2 separate regions of the Homo sapiens genome follow, and region 2 is linked to region 1. The links are contacts of gene promoters, found by promoter capture Hi-C in human tissues and cell types (Jung and others, 2019). All regions are on one chromosome and are shown on one strand. The core of a region is centred on a gene start or on the middle of the fragment in contact, and the rest is flanking DNA. Distances in the headings are between cores, read along the strand shown.

What was found. Contacts are between HindIII fragments. The study calls those that stand out against the background at their distance.
Region 2: a fragment that was not itself captured here is called in contact with the fragment with the promoter of CCDC71 in region 1 in 2 of the 25 tissues and cell types used here (aorta and lymphoblastoid cells).

What each region holds. Positions count from the first base shown.
Region 1 is chr3:49,164,769-49,168,166 of GRCh38, reverse strand. CCDC71 (coiled-coil domain containing 71) reads left to right here and starts at 1,836. Exons shown (of 2, transcript NM_022903.4): 1 at 1,836-1,900. RefSeq lists enhancers at 1,555-1,674, 1,695-1,764 and silencers at 1,915-1,994, 2,015-2,074. The HindIII fragment of the contact is 16,226 bases long and covers 1-3,398 here.
Region 2 is chr3:49,076,281-49,079,722 of GRCh38, reverse strand. It overlaps QRICH1 (glutamine rich 1), which reads left to right. Exons shown (of 10, transcript NM_198880.3): 2 at 2,685-3,014. The coding sequence starts at 2,706. Among named protein-coding and RNA genes, the nearest start is that of QRICH1, 16 kb to the left of the region's middle. The HindIII fragment of the contact is 7,025 bases long and covers 1-3,442 here.

The DNA.
Region 1 (3,398 bases), core at 587-3,086:
CTAGGTACCCCCATGATCCTTATCCCTAATCTCTATCATTTCCCCAGTTCTCATGTCTGGAAGGGACACAGCACAGCCGGAGGATGGACCTACCCTTCCTGGTTTTCCATTTGCCCTAACTTCTGAGCTGAACATCACCAGAGAGGGGTCTGGATATAACTGTACTGTTGCTATCCCTGGAGGATGGGCTCTGGCTCTCCATGGAAGGGGTTTCTGTTTGCACAGCCATGGCCCACCTGCACACAGGAGGCCAACACTGCCGGCTTTGGAGAAGCTGCAGAAGGTAACTGGTTGAATCGGTCCTGAATAAGTGAACAGTCAATCTTCAACCATGGACGGCCAGAGACTGGACTCACCCACAGCTGGGGACTGGGGGCACCAAGGTGGGGCTTCCTGACTGCACCCCATGAGATCCTGGCCCCTGGGACCCTACTCTTGCTTTCTCTCCACCAGGAAAAAAAGGCTAGAAGCACTGACCCCAGAGGAACAGGAGATTTTGCAGTTCCTGCTAGATACCTTGGCTATACTTAAAAGCAGCGAGGACCTCACCATTAGTGCTGAGGCCCTGGGAAGCTAAGAGGCACCAGATGAGGCCTATGGCACTGCTGGGTGGACTAGGCACTTGTCTTTAGGAGTGCCTGGACCCCTCTGTATAAGCAGGGAAAATACAGAGCAACCAGAGGATCCTGGTTGGAAAAAGGGCAGGAAAAAGGGCTAGTACCCAGTCCCTAAATGAAGCATCCCGCCACCCTCCTGTGATTGCCAATAGGCTTCCACCTGACCCCAACTACCAAATAAGGCACCACTGCAAGGGTCAGAGTCCAAGAGTTGTGGCAATATTTCTGCCTCCTGGCTCAGGCTCTGACCCTAGTGCAAATGCCCCCACTACCTCATCCATGAAACCAGGGCTCCCAGGATGGTTCCCAACCTGGACTTGCAAACCTCTGACTAATGGGACCTTTGGTCAGAGCTGTGGAGACCACTCTGACCTCTCACTGAAGTCACAGACCCCTAGGGTTGATTTTGACCTGTGTCCTATAACCACCACCCCGTACTAGCCCAAGAGCATGGATAAAAAGACTGAGGTCCCAGACTCCTAGGCAAAAGGAAAGGGGTTCTGGGCAGTGTTAAGACTGGAAGCAGGACTTCCTTCCATTGAGGGGCTGAGGCTGGGCCAGTGACTATACCTGCCCCCACCTGCCTGAGCAAGTATACTCAGGCCCACAGTGGTATACTGGAGCCCCCAGACTCCATGTGCGCTTGGGCTTGCGTGCACCACTTGTGATCACGTGCACACCAGCCTTTCATGCCATGTGCCACAGGCCCTATTCTCAGGAAGAGAGGAAGGCCTGCTGTCCTCGGAGAAGATACCCTTACTGCAAAACAAAGGAGATCACCTGAGACTCCCTGTCAGGAGGCACTCCTCTTTCACCCTCTGGTCAGGTGTCTGGGACTGAAGTGGGCATTGTCAGTGGCTAAAGATAGATCAGAGGGTGGAAGATGGCCTGAACCTTGTCAGGAGCCCCTCCCAGATGTCAATGCACCACTAGCTCCCCTCAGAAAAGGTGTCAGATGACCCCTAATCCAGTCTTGGCCGGGCTCTAGTGAGTCCTTGCCTGGGGCCGCGTCAGAGGGCACCTCTGTTCTTCAGACTTCTGCACAGGGCCGAACGGGTTTGGAGCAGTCACCGCGGCCACCACCTCCAGGCAGTCCTCCTTGGTACCCAATCTGCTCCGCCCCCAGACTTTGTGGGGAAATGGGGTCTCAGGGGTCAAGGGTCGGTAGGGCGGGCTGGGTCCCGGAAGCGGAAGCGCAGTGCACTTCCGGCGCGCAGCGGGCGGCCATGTTGGAGCAGCGGAGGCGGCGCAGAGGCGCGTCTTGGGTCCCCGCGGCGGCGCCGGTAGGTTGGAGCCGCGGGCCTAGCCGCGCCGCGGAGGGGCGGCCCGCGAGGCGGCAGGGCGGACGGGCAAGCGGCCAACTCTTCCCGGACCCGCGTCCTCCGCCGGCCTGGCCGAGACCCCCCACCCCACCCCCACCCCGCGCCCAGCGACCCCACCCTGGGGCTGTGCGGTCCCGGTAGGGCTAGCACCGTTCACCCTGTACATTTCGCTGCCTCAGTGACCCCCGCCTCACGGCTTGGGCCCTAAGGACGTGCATTCCCAGCCTGAGGGCCCCGATCTGCCCCCTCCCCCGGTCTGCCTGTGTGGCGCCTCTCTCACGCCCTATCTTCCGTCAACTTCTCCTGCCTTCCCCGGGGGCACGTGTGAAGGGAAGTCGGAGGCCGGGCAGGAGCCTCTGTTTCCGAAGCTTCTCGAAAGCCCAGAAAACCCCTCCCAAGAGCCCAGCCTAACCTGGGTGGAAGAGCCCCCAGGTCACCCCAAATATTTGCGCTGGGGCGCGTGTGAGGGTGGGAAATAGGTCCCTCTCTCTTCTACAGTTCACAGCTCTGGGAACTACATCCCTTCAAAAAACATTAATAAAGAACTAAAGTCATGTGCAAGGATTGTGCTTGGAGAACGGTCTCTGGGGAGGGGAAGTGCCCAAGACACCTGAGGATCCAAGAATGTTTCCAAACAAAGAGCCCTAGGGCATTTCCTCCAGGGTATTCTGAAGACTTCATCTGCTGCATTAGAGCGGTGGGAAGAAACTACACAGACGGGCCTCATGGCCCGAGGGACCTGCCTGATCCTGGCTGATCTTTTAATGCTCTGGTGCAGCTGGGGAGCTGCCTCTTGCTTCTGGGAACCCTCAGTGTTGGGTTGGGTATTAGATGTTAGTTATGATTGATGTCCACAGCTTCTTTAAAGAAGTCTGGGAGTAGTTAGGTGTTCTCAGTCACCTCCATCTGGGCTGTACTGAGGTCTGTGGCCCTCCAAGTCTTAGGTAGGACAGTGCATACCGCTAATGTCCCCTTGACTCACCATCCTACTTGCAGCCTTTGGCTCCCATTGTCCTTAAACTTTGGGATCTTGGTCTGGCTTCCTGGTCCCTGGTCTGCCTGGTTGCCTAGAGAGATGTCATTGGCACCTGCTACTCATCAGCTTTTTAGTTTCTGTTGAAGAAAAGTCCGACTCTTGATTAGGTCTCCATGCCTCTGGAGCTAGAAAATGGGTTGCTGAGTACCCTGTCTAGAGACTGAAAACAGAACTTCTGGTGGGCAGGGAGATTCCCCCACCCCACTCCAGCTCCACACATGAACAGCAGCAGCTGGAGAAACAGATGGGCATGGACAGTGGGTGTAAGTCTGGGCCCTTTGGCTAACATTCAGGGTTCTTTGTTGCTCTATCCTCGCCTGTTTTTTCACCTAGATCCCAGATCCCACACCAAGTATGCCTTAACCCTTTCTCACTTTGGAGCCATTGCATTAGCTATTCCCCTTTTTGTTCCATTTCCATCTA
Region 2 (3,442 bases), core at 346-2,845, 88 kb after region 1:
GCTACTGTGCTATTAACAAAGGGGAACTTTGATACATTCTGTGCAAGTGTGGCAAATGAGTGCTCTCGGATCACCTAAGCCAAGTAGCCTTCTCTGAATCTGTAGTTAGGCAAAGTGTGCTTGGCCTGATGCTCTCTTTATGTGTGATGTGGACATCGTTGACCACTTAATTATTATTATTTTATTATAGTATTTTATTATAATTGTTATAATATTTAATTATTATAATTATAATATTTTTATATTTATGTAAAAATTATATTTATATTACATAATTGTAATTATTATAATATTTTATTATAATTATTTATTTTATTTTATTTATTTATTTCTTTTAACAGATGAAAGTCTCTCTAGGTTTCCCAGCCCAAAGACCTGGTCTCAAGCAATCCTCCACCTCAGCCTCCTGAGTAGCTGAGACTACATGTGTGCACCACTGTGACCAGCTGATAACTTAATTTTTTTGTTTGTTTGTTTGTTTGTTTTTTTTAGACAGAGTTACGCTCTGTCGCCTAGGCTGGAGTGCATTCGAGTGATCTCGGGTCACTGCAGCCTCGATCTCTGGGCTCAAGCAATCCTTCTACCTTAGCCTCCGTAGTAGCTGGGACTACAGGTGCATACCACCATACCCAGTTAATTTTTATATATTTTTTGTAGAGATGGGGTTTCTCCATGTTGCCTGGGCTGAGGTGGAAGGATTGCTTGAGTCCGTGGAGCTATGGATATTACAGAAACCAATTGGGTGGCTCACGTCTATAATCCCAGCACTTTGGGAGGCCGAGGCGGGAGGGTCACCTGAAGTCAGGAGTTTGAGACCAGCCAGGCCAACATGGCAAAACCCAGTCTCTACTAAAAATACATAAATTAGCTGGGCATGGTGGTGGGCACCTGTAGTCCCAGCTACTCGGGAGGCTGAGGCAGGAAAATCACTTGAACCTGGGAGGCTGCAGTGAGCCGAGATCGTGCCACTGCACTCCAGCCTGGGCGACAGAGGGAGACTCCAACTCAAAAAAAAAAAAAAAAAAAAAGGACAGGTGTGGTGGCTCACGCCTGTAATCTCAGCACTTTGGGAGGCTGAGGCAGGCGGATCACGAGGTCAGGAGATCGAGACCATCCTGGCTAAGATGGGGAAACCTCGTCTCTACTAAAAATACAAAAAAATTAGCTGGGCGTGGTGGTGGGCGCCTGTAGTCCCAGCTACTCGGGAGGCTGAGGCAGGAGAATGGTGTGAACCCAGGAGGTGGAGCTTGCAGTGAGCCAAGATCAAGCCACTGCACTCCAGCCTGGGCAACAGAATGAGACTCCATCTCAAAAAAAAAAAAAAAAAAAAAAAAAAGGAACCATAATTCTTCGTTTTCCACATTGAATTTCAAATGCAGCAGGTATATATGAAGCAACTACCATGGGTGAGCTATTCGGAGAGAACCAGGACATAGTCTTGTCTACCAAGAACTTAGAGCCTAGGTAGAAGAAAGGAGACGTTTACCCACATATTTTATATCTGTAACATAAGGTAGAGCATCTGGTCAGTCTAGTGTATCTATCCTGATTGCTCAAGGGAACAAATCACCTTTCCAGACATTCAGAATTGTCTGATAATCCTTTTTGGCAAAAACGTTCGCTTGTTTTCTGTTACTCTTTCATCCTGCTGCTACTTTTGTTCTGGAGGTCGGGCTGTTGAAGGGAGGATGGTACAAAGGTAGCAGCGACAGGGGTCAGCAGTCCACAGATTGCACACTTTTCCCTCAGATGATGAGAGTTAACTGTACGTCTGCAGGTTAATTCTTAAGGTAATTAAATACCTGATGAAAACTTGTAGAATTTATTTCTGAATTTTAGTAGTGACCTGGATATTTAAAGCACTATTTACCTTTTTTCCAGAATTATTTTAATAGTATTAGTTACATTTCTGTAGTGCTATCTATGTGCTAGATGATTTTCTAAATGCCTTATTTAATCCTTATGTCAACTGTGAGGTAAGTACTATTGTGTCCCCATTTACTCACAAGAAAACTAAGGTTAATTGACTTTTCTAGAGTTACATAATAAAGGAGACATAAAGTTGGGATTTGAACCCAGGCAGCCTGGCTCCAGAGTCCATGCTTTTAACCAGTAGTAAGCTGTGTTGCAAAAGAATGTGAGCACCACATGGCAAAATAGGATTTTTGGTTTTTCTGATGGGAGATGAAGAACATATCCTCTGCCTCTTGTGTCTTGCCACAACTAGGTGGCATACCTATCTCTGCTGTAGGAAATACTTGGAAATAAAACATATCCATAGGAATCCCTGCCCCTAGCTTCCTCCTTGCTTGGTGTCCTCTCTGTGATGGTCACAGAGCAGTTTTGCATGTGACATTTACTGTCCAGTGCTTGGCTCTGCAGAGAAGATGGGATTGACCTAGTGCTGGGTAGGAAGTGTGTTTTCAGCCTGTTTCATCCAGTATTGTGAAGCATGTGTTTGTTTTTTTGTTTTCAGTGTGATAGTTTTATTTAAGAAATGTTAATAGAAATAATTTTCAAACATCCATTAATTGAAAAAATAAGGTGGTATAATAAAACTTTATTTTTTGATTCTATATGTATACAGCTGCCCTGAATATATTCCACTCTTGTGCAAGGGTAATTGCTTCTGGGCATTTCCTGCTAAAAACAGTAACATAATTTTGACTTCTGTTTATTTCTAGGAACCCTAAGGACTCTGCAATATGAATAATTCCCTAGAGAACACCATCTCCTTTGAAGAGTACATCCGAGTAAAGGCACGGTCTGTCCCGCAACACAGGATGAAGGAATTTCTGGACTCACTGGCCTCTAAGGGGCCAGAAGCCCTTCAGGAGTTCCAGCAGACAGCCACCACTACCATGGTGTACCAACAGGGTGGGAACTGCATATACACAGACAGCACTGAAGTGGCTGGGTCTTTGCTTGAACTTGCCTGTCCAGTCACCACCAGTGTTCAGCCACAAACCCAGCAAGAACAGCAGATCCAGGTTCAGCAGCCGCAGCAGGTTCAGGTATATGGGAAATGCTGAGGTGCAGCCTGTTTAATGTACTTTATTTGTTGTCAGTGTTTTAGTTAGTGGGCTCATCACATCTATGTGGATGTTATAGGTTATTTAACACTAAGATTTTCAAAGTTAATGTGGACTAAAAGTTTTTTCTTTCTTCTCCTTTTTCTTTAAGCTTTTTTTTTTTTTTAAACAAACCCCAGTGTCAAGGACTGACTTTGAATAGATTGCAGCCAGGGATCTGCTTAGCTACCTAGGAAACCCCAACCCAGAAGCGGGTCATCTATGATTGGTTTAGCATCAGGTTCAACGTGACTTGCGTGATGAGTGAGGGGGCGCCACCTTTCTGGCAGCACCTTTTCCCAGGATGAGGGGCTCTCCACACCGGAACCCGGTCCCGGCACGTGACCCCGCCGGCGGCGATGTCAGTGATG